Linked DNA regions of Homo sapiens: region 1 is linked to region 2. Evidence: promoter capture Hi-C in human tissues and cell types (Jung and others, 2019). All regions are on one chromosome and are shown on one strand. Each heading gives the region's core, a stretch centred on a gene start or on the middle of the fragment in contact. The rest is flanking DNA. Distances are from core to core; before and after follow the strand shown. Region 1 has its middle 10 kb from the start of PATL1-DT. Region 2 holds the start of OR4D11 (olfactory receptor family 4 subfamily D member 11).

Region 1 (6,511 bases), core at 373-2,872, 170 kb after region 2:
GGGGAGGAGGGAGTAATCTTGGGGACTGAGCCCTTTACCTGTGGGAACTGACATATCTCCAGGTAGTGTCAGAATCGAATTGGAGGATACCCAGCTGGTCTCCACTGCTTGTTGGTGGGGAAAATCCCCCATATATTTGGTCACAGAAGTCTTCTGTGTTGATTGTTGTGGTGTGAGAGCAGAGGACAAATGCAGTTTAAGTTTTTCCATGACAATGTTGATACTTTGACCCCTTCCTATGACTCACAAATGTTCTTTTTGCGGGCAGGGGGCAAACAAGTGCAGTGGCACGATCTCGACTCACTGCAACCTCCACCTCCTGGGCTCAAGCCATTCTCCCATCTCAGCCTCCCAAGTAGCTGGGGCTATAGGCGGGCACCATCATGCCCGGCTAATTTTTGTATTTTTTGTAGGGACAGGGCTTCGCCACGCTGCCTGTACCTGGCTTCACAAATGTTCTTAATGGCATTTAGGATGGTAAATCCTTTCCAGGTTTTTTTGTTTTGTTTTGTTTTCCTTTATCTAGTCATCCAGAAGTATCCAGAAGGTTTTCAATTTCTTTTGCCCAGATCCATCAAAGGAATCATTATCTATGACAGCTATAGCCTTACAAAATGTATTTCTGAAATAATAAGACTTGAAAGTTGAAATTGCTGTGTGGGCTGCAGAATGGATGTTGTGTTAGCAGGCCTGAAAACGATTAATCTTGTACATCTCCATCAGAGTTCTTGGGTGACCAGCTGCATTGTCAATGAGCAGTAGTATTTTAAAATAAACCAGTTTTTTTTTTTTTTTTTTTTTTTGAGTAGTAGGTTTCAGCAGTGGGCTTTAAATATTCAGTAAATCACGCTGTAAATGGATGTGCTGTTGCTATCCAGGCTTTATTGTTTCATTTACAGAGCAGAGGCCGGGTAGATTTAGCATAATTCTTAAGGAACCTAAGATTTTTTAGAAGGACAAATAAGCATTGACTTCAACTTAAAGTCACCAGCTGCACTAGCCCCTGACAAGGGAGTCAGCCTGCCCTTTGAAGCTTTGAACCTAGGCATTGAAAGTCCTAGATGGTATCTTCTTCCAATAATATAAGGCCATTTTGTCTGCATTGAAAATCTGTTGATGTAGCCACCTTCATCAATGATGAAGCTAGATCTTCTGGATGACTTGCTGGAGCTTCTACATCAAGCACTTGCTGCTTTACTGTGTACTTTTATGTTATGGAGGTGGCTTCTTTCCTTAAACCTCATGAACCAAGCTCTGCTAGCTCCAAACTTTTCTTCTGCAGCTTCCTCACCTCTCTCCACCTTCATAGAATTGAGAGAGTTAGGGTGTCTGGATTAGGATCTGGCTTAAGGGAATGTTGTGGCTAGTTTGATCTTTTATCCAGACCACTGAAAGTTTCTCCATAACAGCAATAATGCTGTTTTACTTTCCTACCATTTGTATGTTCACTGGAGTAGCATTTTTAAATCCTTTCAAGAGCTTTTCCTTTGCATTCACAACTTGGCTAGCTTCTTGGCCCAAAGGCCTAGTTTTTGGCCCATCTTGCTTTTGACATGCCTTCCTCACTAAGCTTAATCATTTCTAGCTTTTGATTTAAAGTGAGAGATGTGTGACTCTTTCTTTCACTTGAACACTTAAAGGTGATTGTGAGGTTATTAATTGGCCTAATTTCAATATAGTTGTGTCGCAGGGAATAGGGAGGCCCAAAGAGAGGGAGAAAGATGAGGGAACAGCTAGTCAGTGGAACACACACAACACTTAGTAAGTTCACCGTCTTATAAGGGTGCAGTTCCTGGTGCCCCAAAACAATTAAAATAGTAACATTAAAGATGACTGAACACATATCACTATAATAGATGTAATAAAAAGTTTGAAATATTGTGAGAATTACCAAAATGTGAGACAGAGACGTGAAGTGAACACATGCTGTTGGGAAAATGGTGCTGATAGACCTGCTCAATGTAAGGTTGCCAAAATTTTTCGATTTGTAAAAAACACAATTATCTGTGAAGTATAATAAAATGAGGTGTTAGGTTGTTGTTGTTTCTGTAACAAAATTATATTTCTATAGGTCGGAATTTTAAAATGGGTTACAGAACTACATTTCTTCCTTGAGGCCACTAGGGGAGAATTTGTTTTTTGTTGTTTGTTTTTAGCTTCCAGAGGTTACTTGCATTTCTTGGCTTGTAGCCCTATCCTCCATTTTCAAAGTCAGCAGCATAAATCTTCCAAACTCTTTCTCTCTCTGCTTTTGTTATCATACTTTTCTCTTCAATTCTCCTGCTCCTTTGTTATAAAGATCCTGTGATAACATTGTGTGCACCCAGATAATACAGGATAATCTCCCCATCTCAGGATTCTTAATTTAATCATATCTACCAAATCCCTTTTACCATGTAAAATAATATATTCACAGGTTCTTGGAATTAGGACATGGAAATATTTGGGGAGCCATTTTTTAGCCTATGGTATGTATGTGGTATGTATGAGTCATTGGGGTATAAAAAATGATTTCTGGTAGTATAATGAGAAAAAATTTTAAGGTTTAAGTTTGTGTTTTATGTGCTGCTTAGAGATGAATAATGAAGATGTCACTAGGTGAACTATGTCAATGGTTTCTGTGTTCATTTCAGTAACTCCCAAGACAACTGGGGCTATGTTCACTAACATGCTGTTAGTTATATATTGCTGCATACAAAACTACCCTAAAATTTAGCAGTGATATGGTTTGGTTGTATCCCCACCCAAAATCTCATCTTGAATTTTAATCCCCATAATCCCCATATGTCAAGGGAGAGAACAGCTGGAGGTAATTGAATAATGGGGGTGGTTTCCCTCATGCTGTTCTCATCATAATAAGTGAGTTCTCACAAGATCTGATGGTTTTATGTGTTTGGTAGTTCCTCCTGCATTCATTCTGCGTCCCACCACCTTGTGAAGGAGGTGCGTTGCTTCCCCTTCACCTTCCGCCATGATTGTAAGTTTCCTGAGGCCTCCCCAGCCATGCAGAACTGTGAGTCAATTGAACCTCTTTCCTTTGTAAATTACCCAGTCCCGGGCAGTTCTTTATAGGAGTGTGAAAATGGACTAATACAAGCACTTAAAACAAAAATAAGTTATTATCTCACAAAGATTTTGGGGGTCAGGAACTGGGAGCAGCTTAGCTAGGTGGTTCTGGCTCAGAGTGTTTCAGGAGATTGCAGTCTGAATGTTGGCTGGGGCTCCAGACACCTGAAGTCTTGACTAGCAGTGGAGAATCTGTCCTCAAGATGGTTCACTTACATGGCTGTTAGCAAGAGGTGTCAGTTCCTCTCTGGCTGTTCATAGGAGATCTCAGTTCCTTACTACATTAGCATCTCCATAGGGCTTCTTGATTGTCCTCAGGACATGGTAGCTTCTTTTACAGTGAGTAATCTGAGGTAGAAGCTAAAGCCACAATATCTTTTATGACCCACCCTCAGAAGTCACACACTGTCACTTCTGCCACATTCTATGTACTAGAAATAAGTTACTAGGTACAACCCATATTCAAAGGGAGAGGAATTAGGCTCCACTGTGTAAAGGGAGGAGTTTCAAAGAATTTGTGGACATATTTTATAGAACCACCACAGCCTACTTGAAGAAGAACAACAGACCTTTTAATCATGGCAAATTTTCTGGACAGATAAATAGATTCTAGGGTTGGAATGATGTCAGCAAGATGGTGGTATAGGAGGTCACCTGCTTTTATCCCCCAACAATAAGAATTCTTCACCCATCCAGACAAAAAAGTCTCTTTGTGGAAGCCTCACGATTCAGGTAGAAAGTTGTGGAAGCCCAATGGAGCCTAAGACCTAGGAGGGTGATTTTGAGAGTGCAGACCCATACCCTGTTGGCAGACCCATCAACTGTGCTCCCAGATTCAAGCCTGGGGAAATGGCCTCATTCCCCAAGGGGCTTGGCAACAGCCCCTACTGGCCTTGAGGCTACCACCAAAACCATCTGCCAGGGGGTTCAGGAAGAATCATGCACACCAGTGCCTCAGCAGGGAAGGCTCATCTGCCTGCTGACGTTGGTCTTCGCAGCTTGGACCTGAAAGTTGCCTTGTGGCTCGTCTCCACCCCTCCTCAGCTGTGGTCCCAGCTTAGTACTACTTGCTGGGAAATTGCTTCCCAAAGGGAAAGTTGCCCATATCTCACAGGAGTTACCCATTCATCTGAGCCTCTGCAATGGGCTTTCCAGTCTCTGTCCAACAGCAGATTCTGAGACCCAGTCTCAAGTCTGGCCCCACACCCACCTAAGCCAATGGGATGGGTTTGCTGACCTCTGTTCCATGGGGGCCCTTGAGGGGGCCCAGTCTCAGCTCCAGCCCCTCTTTCCACATGTGGGGATTGTCCTGCCTGTGCAGGGAACTGCTGGGAGGGGTGTCTGTCCAGGCCACTGGGACAGTCTTCTGGGCTTGGGTCCCTGGCTAGCTTATCTATACAGCCTAGGTACCTTCCTTCAATCTTCCTCAGGTCCATCCTGGCTTGGGTGCTGTGTCAGCCTCAAAGCCCTTGCAAAACTTGTGATGAACCTGGGCTTAGGGCCCCCTCTAGTGCTGAAGTGGCTGCAACAGCCACAGGCTTAGGAATCACAAGTCAGGCTGCTTAGAACTTCTAGACAGGCCTATTGAAGTAAAACAGGCACAAACAAAGCCAGAATGCAAAGACTAGAATAAATACCTAATACACAGACATTGACGCACATCTGCAAGCATCCAGAATAAGCAGGGAAATTTGACCTCACCAAACAAAATAAGATGCCAGTGACTGACCCTAAAGGGAACTTCAAGAAAACACAGAGAAACAATTCAAAAATTTACCAGAGAAATTTAACAGAGATATTGCAATTAAAAAAAACCCAGAAATCTAGGAGCTAAAAAATACAATGAGTATTAAAAAATATTAGTAGAGAGCATCAATAGCAGAATTAAGCAGAGGAAAGAATCTGTGAACTTGAAGATAGGTTATTTGAAAATGGGAAAAGAGAGATCAGACTGTTACTGTGTCTATGTAGAAAAAAGTAAACTTAAGAGACTCTATTTTGTTCTGTACTAGGAGAAATTCTTCTGCCTTGAGATGCTGTTAATCTGTAACCCTAGCCCCAACCCTGTGCTTGCAGATAATTGTGCTGTGTTGACTCAAGGTGTAATGGATTTAGGGCTGTGCAGGATATGCTTTGTTAAAAAAGTGCTTAAAGGCAGTATGCTTGGTAAAAGTAATTACCGTTCTCTAATCTCGAGTACCCAGGGACACAATACACTGCGGAAGGCCGCAGGGACCTCTGCCTAGGAAAGCCAGGTATTGTCCAGGGTTTCTCCCCATGTGATAGCCTGAGATATGGCCTCGTGGGAAGGGAAAGACCTGAATGTCCCCCAGCCCGCCACCCATAAAGGGTCTGTGCTGAGGAGGATTAGTAAAAGAGGAAGGCCTCTTTGCAGTTGAGATAAGAGGAAGGCATCTGTCTCCTGCTCCTCCCTGGGAATGGAATATCTTGGTGTAAAACCCGATTTACTGAGATAGGAGAAAACTGTCTTCTGGCTGGAGGTGAGACATGCTGGCGGCAATACTGCTCTTTAATGCACCAAGATGTTTGTGTAAAGTCAAACAGAAATCTGGCCTATGTGAACATCAAGGCACAGCACCTTTCCTTAAACTTATTTATGACACAGAGATCTTTGCTCACATGTTTTCCTGCTGACCCTCTCCCCACCATTACCCTATATCCTGCCATATCCCCATCTCTGAGATGGCAGAGATAGTAATCAATAAATACTGAGGGAACTCAGAGACCAGTGCCGGTGCAGGTCCTCCGTATGCTGAGCGCCGGTCCCCTGGGCCCACTTTTCTTTCTCTATACTTTGTCTCTGTGTCGTATTTCTTTTCTCAGTCTCTCGTCCCACTTGAGGAGAAACACCCACAGGTTGTGGAGGGGCAGGCCACCACTTCAGAAAATATACTGTCATAGGAGAAACAAGAAAAAATAATGAAAAGGAATGAAGAAAGCTTATGGGATTTATAGGATAACATCAAAAGAGCTAATGTATGGGTCATTGGAATTCAAGGGGAAGTAGAGAAAGATAAAGGAGTAAAAAGCTTATTTAAAGAAATAATAGCAGAAAACTTTCCAAACCTAGAGAAAGATACAATTATCCAGGTACGAGAAAGTCATAGGCCACCAATCAAATTTAATCCTAATAAGACCACCCTAAGACATATTATGATAAAATTGTCAAAGGTAAATGTCAAAGACAGGATGCTGAAATCAGCAAGAGAAAGTAACAACATAAAAGGGACTTTTGCAATACACTTAGCAGCGGACTTCTCAGCAGAAACCTGGTAGGCCAGGAGAGAGTAGGATGATATATTCAAAGTACTAAAGGAAAAAAACACCCTGTCAACTGACAATAGTGTACCGAGCAAAGCTGTCCTTCAGAAATGAAGGAAAAATAAAAACTTACCCAAACAAACAAAAGTTGAGGAAGTTCATC
Region 2 (5,965 bases), core at 517-3,016:
TACAACGTGGTTTCAATTTATATTTTCTCAGTGATAAATGATGTTGAGCCTTTTCATGTGCTTATTTGCTCTCTCTGTGTCTTCTTGCTGAAGTGTCTGTTCAAATAATTTGTCCTTTTTTCTCTTCTTTTTTTTTAACTTCTTTTAGTGACTTCATTTTGTTAAAATAATTTGTCCTTGTTGCTTAATTGGTTGTTTGTTCTCATACTATTGAATGTTAAGAGTTACAGCCATTCCACTCCTAGCTACTTACCCAAGAGAACTGAAAACATATGTCCACACAAAGACCCAAATGTGAATGTTCATAGCAGCTTTATGAGTAATATTCAGAAGCCACAAATAACCCAAATGTTCACCTACAAGTGAGTGGATAAGCAAACTGTGGTATATTCATACAATAGAAAGGAACAAAATAGCAGTACACACAAAACAACGGATGAATTTCATGGTTGAAAGAAGGCAGACAAGAAGAAAATACAAATAGTAGAATTTCACTTATAGAATATTATAGAAAATACAAACTAATGTATAATGACAGAAAGCAGATCAGTTGTTGCCTGAAGAAGGAAGGGTAAAGGGGACAGGCTACAAAGGGGCACAAGGACATTTTCTGGGTGATAGATATATTCACTCTCTTAACTATAGAGATGGTGTCACAGGTATATATGTCAAAACTTATCAGCCGGGAGCAGTGGCTCATGCCTGTAATCCCAGCACTTTGGGAGGCCGAGGTGGGTGGATCACAAGGTCAGGATTTCGAGACCAGCTGGGCCAATATGGTGAAACCCTGTCTTTACTGAAAATACAAAAATTAGCCAGGCGTGGCGGCACACGCCTTTAATCCCAGCCACTCAGGAGGCTGAGGTGGGAGAATCACTTGAACCTGGGAGGCAGAGGTTGCAGTGAGCCGAGATCACGCCACTGCACTCCAGCCTGGGCGACAGAGTAAGACTCTGTCTCAAAAAAAAAAAAAAACATTATCGAAGTGTGAATTCAAATATGTGCAGTCTATGGTATGTCAATGATAGCTCAACAAAAATTATTTTTTAAGAAAGAAATTGAAACAACAGAAGAGAAGCTCTGAGTAATATTTTTATTTCCATTGCTAAGGAGCTATTCACCACCCCGGGGTTTCAGTACCTAAAGTAGATTAAAGTAAAGAAAGAAACAAAGCAGTCCCCTTAAAGAAGAATAGAGCAATAGAAACAAATTTTATGGCTTAAACATTTTCTAATTTTTCATGGAAATAAGTTTGTGATTTAAGAAGAGAGGGGTGCTGCTTCCATACAATTCAATCCAGTGGGGGGCCTCTTTGCAGACAGGGGTTCTTAGAACCATTTAAATGGAGCATCCAGTCTGGGAAAAAACAACAAAATCCTCAGCCCTGTGAAACTCAAGGTGTTCTAGTCACACAAAGTAAGCACTGCCTTATTCTCACAACAAACTAATCCCATTTTTATATTTCCCATGCCACAATAGTCTCTTTCTAAATAATTAATATCCCCCTCTGTTTATCTTGAATAATGTCCTAAGTATCTTGAATAACTGCAACATTATTTTTATACATTTTTTAAAATTGTAATTTATATAAGTGTATGCATGATTGTATAATAAGATGTCATTTTACATGCATTGGCAATAAACTTGAAATTGTAATATCTCACAAGTTTTCAGACCTAATACTTGAATCTGTTAAGAGAGAGTAAACACTTTCTGAAATAACATTATTTTTTCCAAGATATTCAGGAAAGAGAAAACATGATTCAATGGAGTTGGGAAATGTCACCAGAGTAAAAGAATTTATATTTCTGGGACTTACTCAATCCCAAGACCAGAGTTTGGTCTTGTTTCTTTTTTTATGTCTTGTGTACATGACGACTCTGCTGGGAAACCTCCTCATCATGGTCACCGTGACCTGTGAGTCTCGCCTTCACACCCCCATGTACTTCCTGCTCCGCAATCTAGCCATCCTTGACATCTGCTTCTCCTCCACAACTGCTCCTAAAGTCTTGCTGGACCTTCTGTCAAAGAAAAAGACCATATCCTATACAAGCTGCATGACACAGATATTTCTCTTCCACCTCCTTGGTGGGGCAGACATTTTTTCTCTCTCTGTGATGGCGTTTGACTGCTACATGGCCATCTCCAAGCCCCTGCACTATGTGACCATCATGAGTAGAGGGCAATGCACTGCCCTCATCTCTGCCTCTTGGATGGGGGGCTTTGTCCACTCCATCGTGCAGATCTCCCTGTTGCTGCCTCTCCCTTTCTGTGGACCCAATGTTCTTGACACTTTCTACTGCGATGTCCCCCAGGTCCTCAAACTCACTTGCACTGACACTTTTGCTCTTGAGTTCTTGATGATTTCCAACAATGGCCTGGTCACTACCCTGTGGTTTATCTTCCTGCTTGTGTCCTACACAGTCATCCTAATGACGCTGAGGTCTCAGGCAGGAGGGGGCAGGAGGAAAGCCATCTCCACTTGCACCTCCCACATCACTGTGGTGACCCTGCATTTTGTGCCCTGCATCTATGTCTATGCCCGGCCCTTCACTGCCCTCCCCACAGAAAAGGCCATCTCTGTCACCTTCACTGTCATCTCCCCTCTGCTGAACCCTTTGATCTACACTCTGAGGAACCAGGAAATGAAGTCAGCCATGAGAAGACTGAAGAGAAGACTCGTGCCTTCTGAAAGGGAATAGAAAACAAATCCAGGCCAGGCGCGGTGGCTCACAGCTGTAACCCCAGCACTTTGGGAGGCCAAGGCGGGTGGATCATGAGGTCAAGAGATCGAGACCATCCTGGCCAACATGGTGAAACCCTGTCTCTACTAAAAATACAAAAATTAGCTGGGCATGATGGTGCGCACCTGTAGTCCCAGCTACCAGGAGGCTGAGGCAGGAGAATTACTTGAACCCAGGAGGCAGAGGTTGCAGTGAGCCAAGATTGCGTCACTGCATTCCAGCCTGGCAACACAGCAAGACTCCATCTCAAAAAAAAAAAAAAAAAGAGGCCGGGCGCGGTGGCTCATGCCTGTAATTTTTTTGGGAGGCCGAGGCGGGCAGATCACGAGGTCAGGAGATCGAGACCATCCTGGTTAACACGGTGAAACCTCGTCTCTACTAAAAATACAAAAAATTAGCTGGGCGTGGTGGCAGGCGCCTGTGGTCCCAGCTACTCGGGAGGCTGAGGCAGGAGAATTACTTGAACCCAAGAGGCAGAGGTTGCAGTGAGCCGAGATCGCGCCACTGCATTCCAACCTGGTAACACAGTGAGACTCTGTCTCAAAAAAAAAAAAAAAGAAAAGAAAACAAATTCAGCTCTTCATCACCAAGGACACCTTATATTATTTTTCCCATGAATTCACATTTACATACTCAGATACATTGTCAGTAAACCAACTATACTGACTATGAACAATTTGTCTTCCTATTTCAGTTAGTAGATAACTGATAACCTAAGCTTCTGTGCAGCATGAACTAACTAGTGTTATAGGAGTGAACTGACTGTTACTTTTCCAAAGACCAAGTAACCTTATGTCAATCAAGACAGCTATATGGCAGGCAGATAAGATGATTAAGTCCAACATTTTTTTCAGAAGATAAGGAAATAAAAGCCCAGAGAGATAAAGTGATGTGTTCAAGGTCTTATATTAAGTTAATTACAGAGACATCTTCAGATGCTCAACCCATTGTTCTTCCACCACATGAATGTAATTTATTACATTGTTGGACCTGTCTATACCAAACTATAATCCTGTTCCAGAAGGATCTCATGATCAATGCCTCTGGAGTACATATATGTGGGTATGCATAGCCTATTGCAGATTGAGAAATTGGCCTCTGCTGAATTAAACTAAAGTGGGCTCATGAGCTACTGAGAACTTCATAGGAACATAATGGTTATCCTCCTGGATTCCTATCAAGATTGATGAGGCTTGGGAAGATTTCTCATCATGGCCTAAAGGTATATATCTTAATGCAGAACTAGACATGCCACACATTCTCATGATGAGTTTGGATAAAGGCAAAACTTCAGAAACCACACACATGAAGCAATTTATCTCTACCATCAAAGGACCGATTTTCCAGTTGCAGCCTTACAAGGGTCAGTTTTGCCTTGGCCTCACCATTGAGAATTCACATTTCTTTTCACTGGAAAGAGAGAATGGGAGAGTTTAAGAAGAAAAAACTCTACCCGGTCTATTTTTTCAAACTTCTAGTGTTTGTGAAGAGGCAGTATAGGCTAGTGTTATTATCTGGGAGAGCAGTAAAGCATGGTGGATGAAAGCTCTAATTTCAGAGTCATACAGACCCAGGTATGAATCCTATCTCTGCCATCCACCAGCTGTGCGATCTTGAGCAAGTTATTTCACCTCTCTCTCCAAAGGTCATAGTTCACCTACGCAAAGATTCTCGTTATAATATCCATCTCATGAGGTTGTTGTAAAGGACAAAATGAGATGGTATACATGAAATATATGATACCTGGCAGAGAATAAATGTGCAACCAAAGATAAATGTCATTATTAATATCACCTTTATTGCTTTACCTAACACGCCTTCTGTTTCCCATTGGCCTGTAACACCCTTTTCCTATATGACCCATACTCCTTATTTTTAGATAAAAACTGGTTGAGTAGAAAACATGAAAATGTATATTGAGTTCAAAACATCCATCATGTTAAAATGTCTAGCTTTCTTTTTTTTTTAACAAAAGAAAAGTTTAAAAAGGAAGAAATCATACAGATAACACAATTGTCCACATTGTCAAGAAAATATAGAAAAATACTCTTAGGACTAATAAATGACTTCTGCAAGGTCTTAGGATACAAGACCAATGTACAGAGATCAATCATATTTCTGTATACCGACAATAAACATGTGCAAACCAAAATTAAAAACAACACCATTAATAGTCACTAAAAATGAAATACTTAGTTATAAACAACAAAAAAATGTATAGACTGTGTATGCTGGAAATTACAAAATGTTGATGAAAGAAATCAATCAAGACCTAAACAAGTGGAGAAGCATACTGTGTTCATGGACTGGATGATTCAACATAGTAAAGATCCCAATTCTCCCAAAATGTATAAGTTTAATGCAATTCTTACCGAAGTCCCAGGAAAGCTTTTTTGTAAACTTTTTTTTTTTTACAATTTAATCTTTTATTTTTATTTACATTTTATGTAGAATGCTTATAACTAGAAAGAAAGGTTTCTTTTTTATATATACTTTAAGTTTTAGGGTACATGTACACATTGTGCAGGTTAGTTACGTATGTATACATGTGCCATGCTGGTGCGCTGCACCCACTAACTCGTCATCTAGCATTAGGTATATCTCCCGACGCTATCCCTGCCCCCCCCACCCCACAACAGTCCCCAGAGTGTGATATTCCCCTTCCTGTGTCCATGTGATCTCATTGTTCAATTCCCACCTATGAGTGAGAATATGCGGTGTTTCGTTTTTTGTTCTTGCGATAGTTTACTGAGAATGATGATTTCCAATTTCATTCATGTCCCTACAAAGGACATGAACTCATCATTTTTTATGGCTGCATAGTATTCCATGGTGTATATGTGCCACATTTTCTTAATCCAGTCTATCATTGTTGGACATTTGGGTTGGTTCCAAGTCTTTGCTATTGTGAATAATGCCGCAATAAACATACGTGTGCATGTGTCTTTATAACAGCATGATTTATAGTCCTTTGGGTTTATACCCAGTAATGGGATGGCTGGGTCAAATGGTATTTCTAGTTCTAGATCCCTGAGGAATCGCCACACTGACTTCCACAATGGTTGAACTAGTTTACAGTCCCACCAACAGTGTAAAAGTGTTCCTATTTCTCCACTTCCTCTCCAGCACCTGTTGTTTCCTGACTTTTTAATGATCGCCATTCTAACTGGTGTGAGATGGTATCTCATTGTGGTTTTGATTTGCATTTCTCTGATGGCCAG

The links. Contacts are between HindIII fragments. The study calls those that stand out against the background at their distance.
Region 1: a fragment that was not itself captured here is called in contact with the fragment with the promoter of OR4D11 in region 2 in 1 of the 25 tissues and cell types used here (adrenal gland).

The regions. Positions count from the first base shown.
Region 1 is chr11:59,676,167-59,682,677 of GRCh38, forward strand. No RefSeq gene overlaps it. Among named protein-coding and RNA genes, the nearest start is that of PATL1-DT, 10 kb to the left of the region's middle. RefSeq lists an enhancer at 4,212-4,712. The HindIII fragment of the contact is 4,352 bases long and covers 1-3,798 here.
Region 2 is chr11:59,501,810-59,507,774 of GRCh38, forward strand. It overlaps OR4D11 (olfactory receptor family 4 subfamily D member 11), which reads left to right and starts at 1,767. Exons shown (of 1, transcript NM_001004706.1): 1 at 1,767-2,702. The coding sequence starts at 1,767. The coding sequence ends at 2,702. The HindIII fragment of the contact is 13,495 bases long and covers 1-4,297 here.